Regions from separate parts of the Homo sapiens genome. Here all the other regions are linked to region 3. The links are contacts of gene promoters, found by promoter capture Hi-C in blood cells and fetal thymus (Javierre and others, 2016). All regions are on one chromosome and are shown on one strand. The core of a region is centred on a gene start or on the middle of the fragment in contact, and the rest is flanking DNA. Distances in the headings are between cores, read along the strand shown.

Region 1 (3,217 bases), core at 687-3,186, 250 kb after region 3:
GGTGGCTCGCACCTGTAGTCCCAGCTACTCAGGAGAAGGAGGCAGGAGAATCGCTTGAACCCCAGAGGGGGAGGTTGCAGTGAGCCAAGATCACGACACTGTACTCCCTAGCCTGGCCAACAGAACGAGATTCCGTTTAAAAAAAAAAAAAAGTTTTATGAGTGGAAGAATTTCTCTAAGGATTTTGGTCCGTGGAGTCAGACTCTCCCCCAGTGTCTTAGTCACCCCCTGCCCAGCCTGGTTCCCTCATCCACCAAGAATTCATGACCAACTGCCAGAAGCTTTGTGTTATGCCGCCAGCCTCCCTGATCCTGAGCACCTTCCAAAGCCTCACTCTATTGCTCATGGATATACTGGGTTGTTATCTGCTGACTTGGTTGTTTTCTCCTTGTGATGTAAACTTAATAGAGAGATGAGCTAACACCCTAACTATCTAGAAGAGTAACTCCTTTGATTGTTAAGGATGAACATAACTCATCTGTTTTCTTCCTTACCATTCTCGCCCACCTTCAGTTGCAGATATGGTGTTATGAAGAGGTTCTAATGAGTTTATTCCAATGATGATTCAAAAGTCCTGTTATCCACCCCCCAGCCCTGGAGGGTGAGAGGACAGTTGAGGAGGAACTGGTCAAGGCATGTTCCCTAAAACTAGAGCACATATCTTTCCAGTTAGCGAGTGGCTGTTTAACGCAAGGAACATCCTGCAATCCTATGAAAGAGGATGCAAAAGATATGCAGGATACCCTTTATATATGCAAAGGAGGAGGTCAAAACATATTTCCTGCCTTCTAGGTCCTTACAACAGGGCTAGATTGTCTTGTAGGGTCCGTGAAAGGTCTAAAACTCAGGACTTCCACTTATGGGAGAGAGAAAAGTTTCAAGGTAGGGAGAGAGTTTTTGTTGTGTGTTCTAAGAAATTGGGAGCTATATCCTTCACCTTGTTTCACCTTCCCTGCAGAACCAGTGGGGCAGTCCTTTGAAAAATAAGTGGGTAGGGTTTCTTGTCCAATTTGCTTCCCCTTAGGTACACCACTAAGTAAACCATCATTCTCTCCTTAGGCACACCATTATTCTGTTCCCCATTTCACAATGTCTGTCTGGATGTATAAAAGCCCTCTCAATGGGCTCCCTAAAGCGTCTGCCAGTAGGGGCTCCCACCCTCTTTCCTCAACACTCCCAATCCACCGCAGCCCAGAGCACAGTGTCTGCTTATCTAACCATCTGACTCCCCCGTATACTACATTCTTGAGCTGTTTTTCACCCCCCTATTTGCTAACCGTGGGCCGTACATAGGGTGGACCCCTATATTTTGTTAAACTGGAGTGATTCTACGCAAATGCACGCTCCTACCTATCGGCACTCCCAGCCTGCAGAAATTGTATGCCTTATGTTCAGCACTAAACTCAAATCTAACCAAGGAAGTCCGGATCCCATAGGGTTCTTCCTACTCTCCAGTTCGGTTTATTTTAAGGCCAACAGCCCTAGCTTCACGTCCCTCCTTCACAGCCTTCTTTCCTTCCCTCCTGCCGGATGCGCCCGGCAGCCGTTGAGCACAAGCCCAGCGGATCTGGAAGGAGACCCCGCCGCGACCGGGGAAAATTGAGCGAACTTGGGCGCAAAACCCGCCCGGCAACTCGTGACGTCATCTCGTCCCGCGCTCGGATAGGCTGTACCCACTCCACGCTGGTTGAGGCGCTCTTAAAGTCCTTTGTAACCCAGATTGGAGCCTGAGGGGACCTCTCGTGGACGCCCACAGAAATGCACTCGAGAGGAACATAAAAGCATCACACTTAAGCGCTCGAAAGAAAGCCCCACGAACCCATAAAGGCTCCTCCCCGCTCCTTCCTCGAAGCTCCTCCTTCATCCTGCACCTCGGCTGTGGATTTATTTCCCCTTTGTTGACTCGGCCATCGGCCTGCCGGGCCTGGCGTTTCCCAGAAGGCCCAGCGCCGGGAAGGGGTTTGCAGCTGCTCCGTCATCGTGCGGCCCGACGCTATCTCGCGCTCGTGTGCAGGCCCGGCTCGGCTCCTGGTCCCCGGTGCGAGGGTTAACGCGAGGCCCCGGCCTCGGTCCCCGGACTAGGCCGTGACCCCGGGTGCCATGAAGCAGGAGGGCTCGGCGCGGCGCCGCGGCGCGGACAAGGCGAAACCGCCGCCCGGCGGAGGAGAACAAGAACCCCCACCGCCGCCGGCCCCCCAGGATGTGGAGATGAAAGAGGAGGCAGCGACGGGTGGCGGGTCGACGGGGGAGGCAGACGGCAAGACGGCGGCGGCAGCGGCTGAGCACTCCCAGCGAGAGCTGGACACAGTCACCTTGGAGGGTACGGCAGCCCAGGCCGGGAACGTGCCGCGATCGCGGGTGACAGCGACCCCTGTGATTTGGCTTCTTGCTGGGAAGCCACAGCAGCCTCCACCACCCTCAGTTCTTTGGGATCACCCCCAGATACCTGCTCCCACTGCCCCGACACTCCCGACTCCAGGCCCAATGACTGAACCTTCTCTCCAGGCTGGGAACCACTCCCCTCCCATCCCCTCCATCCCCATATCTGGGGTTGCATCTATATCTAGGTCCCAGTGGGCCTGGGGACTCCCTCTTTTAAGTCCTCCCCTCTGACCTATTCCGTTTATATCCCACCCGACTGATTTTAGCGCCTCCAATATATGACTGATTGTTCCCGCTGGAAACCAGTGTTTGTGTCTGTGTGTAAACAGGGCCAGGATGACCTAGAATATTGACTCCTGAGTTTTAAAACTGTACAGCAGATTTTTGTTGTCCTAGCTGCCTTTAGCACACTCCCCCGAATGAACCATTTCGACCTAGTATCTTGTTTCCTACTTCTCTAACTGAAGTGTCCCAACAGTCCCCTTGCTGTCTCCTCCCTTCAGGTCCTTACTGCCCCTCTGTTTCTAAAGGGTTTAAGTACATACACACTTAAAACTTTTCGGGTGTCATCTTTGTTTGGTTTTGTAATACTCAACCTTTGGCCTAAACTCCTATATACCGGTGTCTCCTATTTCTTTTCTCCGAGGTTCCTGTTTCGAGTGTCTGTAGTCCTCTTGTTCCTCCAAGTTCATGTTTTACTTTTCCCACTTACAGCGTCCTGTTTCCATTTGAAGTGGGCAAAGTGAGAGCTTCCCACTGTGATCCTGGTGCCATTTTCCTGGTTCTGGATCAAGTGGGACCAGACTACTTACTAGGTTTTCTTTTCACTAAAATG
Region 2 (3,274 bases), core at 38-2,537, 130 kb after region 3:
TATGGCCTTGTGATGTGTAGGGTCTCTTTTCAAAATAATTAATGAATCCTTAGGACAAAAGACATTTATTGAGCACCTACTATAGGCAAGTTTCTGTGTTAATCACTCAGTTCTTCTCATACATGGTCTGGAACTATAGCTTGACATATGAGCCAATTATCATTGGACATCTATCTAGGCCAGGTGCAGTGGCTCACTCCTGTAATCCCAGCACTTGGGAAGGTTGAGGCGGAAGGATCACTTGTGGCCAAGAATTCAAGACCAACCTGACCAACATAGTGAGACCCCCATTTCTACAAAAAATGAAAGATAATAAATCAGCAGGTCATGGCGGTTTGTACAATAAATTACCAGGTTATGGTGGTGGATGCCTGTAGTCCTAGCTACTCAGAAGGTTGAGGCAGGAGGATCGTCTGAGCCTAGGAGTTTGTGGTAGCCTGGGCAACAGAGCAAGGACTATCTCTTTAAAAATAATAATAAAAAAAAAAAACTGGATGTCTGATAAAAGATCTACCAATAATCAATAATCTTTTAGTCCTAAATAAGTGTAAGTATATACATTTATATATGAATGAAAAGTTTATAACAATGTATTTTTAAAGTATCACTTGAAAGCGTATGCTATTTTTATGGCATCATCTATATCTTACTGACTGAGAAAACAAATTTCTGCTCATATTCAATGGATATTTTAATGGACTAATTGCGATCCTGAAATCTGCTTATGTAAATTTAACAGTTAAAATTTGGCTTTACACAAAAAAGAATGAAATCATATCCTTTGCAACAACATGGATGCAGCTGGAGGCCATTATTCTTAGTGAATTAACACAGAAACAGAAAACCAAATACCGCATGTTCTCACTTATGACGGGGAGCTAAACACTGGGTACACATGGACTGTTATGAATTAATGTGACCCCCAAATTAGACACTGATGACCCCAAAATGGGGAAGGGTGGGAGGAGGGCAAGGGTTGAAAAACTACCTATAGGACACTATGCTCATTATTTGGGTGACAGGATCAATAGAAGCCCAATCCTCAGCATCACATAATATACTTATGTAAGAAACCTGCACATGTACCCCCTAAATCTAATTTTGTTAAAATTGGCTTTAAGTGACAGTCTAGCAAAAAATATCCAATAACATTTTTGTTTTCCAAGCTTTCTTTTTCAATTATACAGTTTAAGTGCTTAAAAAATTACTGAGCTTTATCAAAGAATTACTAGCCCCAATCTCCTACTTTAAAAATTTATTTAAATAAAATGCATCACAATAAACATAATAAAAAGTACTTTTTCAGCACTATTTTAATTGAATGCAACAAATTCTGAGGGCCTTCTATGAACCAGAAACTGTCCTTCGCATTCAGTGTACAAAAACAAGACACAGTCTCTGTTCTCCAGAAGCTTAAAGACCAGAGGGGGAATAAACACCTACATCAATAAATAATTTCAACACAATGTGGTAGAAGTATACACAGAAAGGAGAGGCCCTTAGCTGAGGTGAAGGAACATGAGAGACTGGGTAGGGGTGATCACCAGAAGGCACTAGGAGGAGGTCATCAGAAGAAGGTCATCAGAGAGCCTTCATGGCGATGATGCCTGAGCAGAGTCTTGAAAGATGAGTAGGCATAAGCAAGTAGAGAATGGGTGAACATAATAGCAAAGACATGGAAGCATGAAATAGCATACTGGATTAAAGGAAGTACAAACAGGAATTTTGAAAAATTATGTTCTACCAGGACGCCACGGCCTTTCTGTGGCTTTTGTTTCTTAAAACCTTCGCATTTCATCCTCCATACGCTCACAATGGAGGGCAAACAGATTCCATCATCTACAGGCTTTATCTCTGTTAATCTCAGCCATCCAGAACATGGAAAGGGACCTGAAACAAAACCCTACTACCACAAAATCTATGTGGTAAGAAATATAAGCTGACATCAAGAAGGAGACAAAAATTGTACAATATCCTAGGTATGTTTGGTGTAGGGGCATTCAGCTCAAAACCCCTGTGAGAATATATTATGGAATAATATATGATCTGATGGTGAGAACAGTAACTCAGAGTTGCCGAGATAAACTTATCTCTTATGTACCTTGCTTATAAAGCAGGGAGCTGTGTAATAAATATACTTAGAAAAATCTTTACTCAATATTGTTAAAAATAAAAATGTTTTACATTAAATAAGAAGTCTGCCATTACCTGTGAAATTCATGTTTGTGAACCACCTCATTTCCCGACCATAACAGACAGAAGAGATGTTATAGTACAAATAATAAAATTTAGTGATTCATAAACAGTCTTTGGGTAGAAAATATTTAAGGTCACAGATTGTGAGAAAATTAAAAAGTTATAGCTTCTGATTTTAGTATATTCATTAAATCTTCATTTCTACAAGATTTCTATTTCAAAAGCTTATTCATCTGACATCTTCATACATAGAAAGTCTCAATAAATTAATTAAAAGATAAATGAATTTGTTAAATGACTTTATATGCTGAAGGAATGATATACAGTATTGCATTGTACAATAAACTGTTATGAATCAATGTGACCCCCAAATTGGGCAGAAAATAAAGGTATTCCATGAAGTATTCTACTTTCTTACATTGCCAAGAGAGGTATACACTATAGACCAAATCTCTAATCTAGACTGAGATCAAAACCACAAGATGATATAAAAATTTTTTAAATATCAAAAACATGGGCCAGATTAGTCTATTTTGGGTAGCTATAATGAACCAGATATTTTACCACATCAAATACTCTATACGCAAGGACCTGACATTAAAATAGCCAAATTCATATAATTAACCTCTTTTTAAAATTTAAATGTTAAAGTTTTTTCATTAAGCATAATCTATACTATCTATCTCCATGGACCTATAGATTTAATCTAATCATGTAAACACAACTTTAAAAAGTTATTGATCTACATTCTCTTTCCATTTATAGTCTACACACTCTAAATTAAATTCTACACAAGTTTTCATTCTTTTCTTCTTAAGGGAGTCTTCAGGCTTATTAAACATCTGTGTTAGTACACCAATAACCTAAGATATGCTATTTAGTTTCTTTATTGCACATTAAATAAATGAATTTGGAAGTATTAACATTTATAGAGAAATACTCCAGTTTCTATGGATTTACATGATTCTGTACATTATCCTTGATACGTGGTATGGTTACGGCTAGGAAAAATAGTGTTGGAGTACTGATTTATAATTTCATAAAAACAAATTAATCATTTGTAATAATTAAAGCATAT
Region 3 (3,554 bases), core at 611-3,110:
CTATGTCTGGGGGTGGCTCTGTGCCATCCCTTCCTGCTCACCTTACACTCAATTCCTCTTTTCCTGGAGGGAGTGGCTGGGAATCTTCAGAAAGCTTGGATGAGGAGCCAGACATCCAGTTCTCCAGCTTCAGGGTTGGGGGAGATCGGGAAGCTGGATTCAGATCTGAGAGCCCTTTGACGACCAGATCATTCTTATTTAGAACGAACTAATTCCTAAGGCCACTCACCAGAATGGGGTTATTTCCTCCTTGTGAGTGAGGAGAGTGGTGGGTAGGGTGGGGGAAAGACGAGGCAGGGTCTACTGTGGGACTCATTTTCCTTGCCTTGGCTATGCCAGAGGAGCTCACTGACCTAAGGAGTAGCTGTCCAGAAAGCCCACCCAGCCAGCACAGCCACCCTGGCGGTGCAAAGGCTGGGCTGACCGGACTTCTGTGCCCCCCACATTCCCAGACTGGACGTATAAAAACACACACTAGTTAGCATTAGTGTTTGTAGCGCCACTTTACTGCCAATAGCTGACATTGCCCTGGGTTAGGGGAGAATAAATAAAATCTGTGGCATCAGACAGGTATTACCGAGGCGAAGAGTGGACTGGGCTTTCGTGGGCACTTACCCTGGGAAGGGGGTATGAGGTGGCTGGAGAAGTGTTCATGGAGAGTGTCTCTCTCCTGCCCCCAAGGCCACGGAATCTTCTATTCCTTCTTTGTACCCAAAGGGCAAAGTGGAGGCCAGGGTCTCTTTGCTAAGGAGCTAAGTAGGGGAAAGAGGCAGGGGGAGCTCCCAGCAGGACCAAAGGGAGACCAAGGTTTGGACCCCAGAACAGAGCAGGAACCCAGAGTCCTGTGCAGTCACAGGATGACGCAGGGAGGACGGCTGTTGGTGATCTTTTCTAGGGTTTCTCCATTACTGGCTCTTCGGATGGCCTCAATGAGCTAGAGGAGTGGAATGACAGGATGATGCACTGTTGGGGTAGGGTGACCAAGAGGTCCTCCCAACGCTGTAAATACTCACATCTTTCTCATAGGGAAAGCCCCCATTCTCCAGCTTGGAGAACACCAGCTGTCCATTTATCTCTATCTCAAAGGCACCTGGTAAGAAATCAACAGATAAATGGTACACTGAGAACATAGGCAGAAGTCAGGAGTTCCTCCAAAGGGGTCCCCCGCCTTCAAGTCCCCCATCAATCCCACTGGAGACCCATTTGTAGCTCCTTAAGCAATTCCCCAACCCTGGGTCAACTCCAGGGAACCTGAGGGAGGCCTCGCCTGTGTGCCCCTCGCAACACTCAATAAAGGACTCCCTCCCCTCCAACCCTACACGATTGCAGTCTAATAGGTTTTTCCCCACAGGCCTCTGTGACACCCCCTGACCTATGGAAGGGAACTCATGTTGGCCGGACATTTTACCATGTGCCAGGCACTGCGGGCACTTTACATAAAGCAGCCAATGTCAGAACTAGAAAGCGGGAGAGCTGGGATTCAGAGCACAGACTGACCCAGCAGGTGTTCTGCGAGCCTCACCTGTGCCCCCGAGGCGCGACTCGATCTCGATGCCCGGATACTGCTCCTTCACAGCACTGGCCAGCTCCAGGTAGGTCGCCTCGAAGCCGCAGGGTTCACTGGGGAGTCAAGAGATGGGGCTGGGCTGGGGATTCGGGGGTGGGGCCTCCCGTGGACCCACCTCCGTCCGGCCCGCGGGACCAGGGTGCGGGTCCTCCAGCCGGGGCCGCTCACCAGTACTCCACCACGATGCGGACCCCACTGCCCGGCTCGACCTCCTCGGGAGGGGGCGCTACGGACGTCTGCCCCGGCTCCCCGCTCATCGCGGCCGGCTCCGCTCGGGCCCCTGCTTCCGGGTGTGACGCGAACCGCGGGCACGTGACGGGGCGGGGCCTCTGGAGCGGGGAGGGGCCGAGGGTGGCGTTCGGGCGCCCCCTGCGGGTCTCCGCCACTGCTACGTTTTGACCTCGTAGGGCAGCTCCGGAGCTCGCTCCCCGGGCAGGGGCTGGGTCCGGTCCAGACCCTCCTTCCCTGGCCCGGTCTCCCGGAGTGCCGGGCTTCCCCACTCCCCACTCCCGGTGTCCGCTGGACTTCATGGCTTCATTTACTCTAATGGACTATCTTAGACTGCAAAGCGCTTTTCAGTTTACAAAAGAAAGAGAAAGTGGTGGGGCAAGCATCCTGGGGATGGGGGTGGGTGTGGCTGATGCATGAAATAGTTGACATTTTCTCGCTAACATGCCGATGGCATTTTTTTTTTTTTTTTTTTTGAGACGGAGTTTCGCTCTTGTTGCCCAGGCTGGAGTGCAATGGCGCGATCTCGGTTCACTGCAACCTCTGCCTCCCGGGTTCAAGCGATTCTTCTGCCTCAGCTTCCCGAGTAGCTGGGACTACAGGCGCGTGCCACCGCACCCGGTTAATTTTGTATTCTTAGTAGAGACAGGGTTTCATCATGTTGGTCAGGCTGGTCTCGAACTCTTGACCTCAGGTGATCCACCAGCCTCGGCCTCCTAAAGTGCTGGAATTACAGACATGAGCCACCGCGCCTGGCCCAGTTTTTTGTTTGTTTGTTTGTTTGTTTTAGTAGAGACAGGGTTTCACCATGTTCGCCAGACTGGTCTCGAACTCCTGACCTCAAATGATCTGCCTGCCTTGGCCTCCCAAAGTGCTGGGATTACAGGCGTGAGCCACCACGCCCGGTGCTGATGGCATTTGGAACCACCCTGTAGTTACATACACAAGTGTTTCTGATCCCAAAGCTCTAAACTGCTTTTTCCAGTCTTTTGCAGCTGCTTCTTGCCTGCACTGGAAAACAGTAGATGCTCTTCAGGCTCTGTGCCCCCAACAGTTTCTGCGCATCCCTTCTCATCCAGCCTCTCACTGGGGGGCTGGCGTCATTATTCCCATTTTGCAGCTCTGGAAATGGAGTCTGCACAAGTCCTCGCTGCCTTTTCCCTGCCTACAGTACCACTATGGTATCCTAACACGCCACCCACTCTAGTGTCCCTTTAGGCTATTTATTTATTTATTTATTTATTTTGAGATGGAGTCTCACTCTGTCACCCAAGCTTGAGTGCAGTGGCGCGATCTTGGCTCACTGCAACCTCCACCTCCTGGGTTCAGGCGATTCTCCTGCCTCAGTCTCCCTAGTAGCTGAGATCATAGGTGCCAGCCACCACGCCCAGCTAACTTTTGTATTACTATTATTATTATTTTTTTGAGACAGAGTCTTGCTCTGTTGGCCAGGCTGGAGTGCAATGGTGCGATCTCGGCTTACTGCAACCTCTGCCTTCCGGCCTCAAGTGAGTCTCCTGTCTCAGCCTCCTGAGCAGCTGGGATTACAGGTGCCCACCACCAAGCCAGCTAATTTTTCTATTTTTAGTACAGATGGGGTTTCACCATGTTGGCCAGGCTGGTCTCGAACTCCTGAAGTTGTGATCTGCCCATCTTGGCCTCCCAAAGTGCTGGGATTACAGGTGTGAACCACTGCACCCGGGCTCATTTTTTTTTTTTTTAAACCAGGCAGGTCGTAGTGGCTCACACCTGTAATCCC

Evidence for each region. Contacts are between HindIII fragments. The CHiCAGO score rates a contact against its expected background, and 5 or more counts as called.
Region 1: a contact is called between the fragment with the promoter of PSMD3 here and the fragment with the promoter of MIEN1 in region 3, in 5 of 17 cell types (activated CD4 T cells, fetal thymus, naive B cells and 2 more). The highest score is 7.3, in activated CD4 T cells.
Region 2: a contact is called between a fragment that was not itself captured here and the fragment with the promoter of MIEN1 in region 3, in 4 of 17 cell types (activated CD4 T cells, naive CD4 T cells, total CD8 T cells and 1 more). The highest score is 6.1, in activated CD4 T cells.

What each region holds. Positions count from the first base shown.
Region 1 is chr17:39,978,871-39,982,087 of GRCh38, forward strand. It overlaps PSMD3 (proteasome 26S subunit, non-ATPase 3), which reads left to right and starts at 1,937. Exons shown (of 12, transcript NM_002809.4): 1 at 1,937-2,320. The coding sequence starts at 2,101. RefSeq lists enhancers at 1-946, 1,368-1,547, 1,768-2,047, 1,848-2,825 and a silencer at 2,228-2,277. The HindIII fragment of the contact is 5,666 bases long and covers 280-3,217 here.
Region 2 is chr17:39,859,773-39,863,046 of GRCh38, forward strand. The region is part of intron 1 of IKZF3 (IKAROS family zinc finger 3); the gene reads right to left. Among named protein-coding and RNA genes, the nearest start is that of IKZF3, 2.9 kb to the right of the region's middle. RefSeq lists an enhancer at 1,644-1,803. The HindIII fragment of the contact is 246 bases long and covers 1,165-1,410 here.
Region 3 is chr17:39,728,672-39,732,225 of GRCh38, forward strand. It overlaps MIEN1 (migration and invasion enhancer 1), which reads right to left and starts at 1,861. Exons shown (of 4, transcript NM_032339.5): 1 at 1,736-1,861; 2 at 1,523-1,620; 3 at 1,014-1,090; 4 at 1-934. The coding sequence starts at 1,824. The coding sequence ends at 851. RefSeq lists a silencer at 1,543-2,102. The HindIII fragment of the contact is 2,975 bases long and covers 93-3,067 here.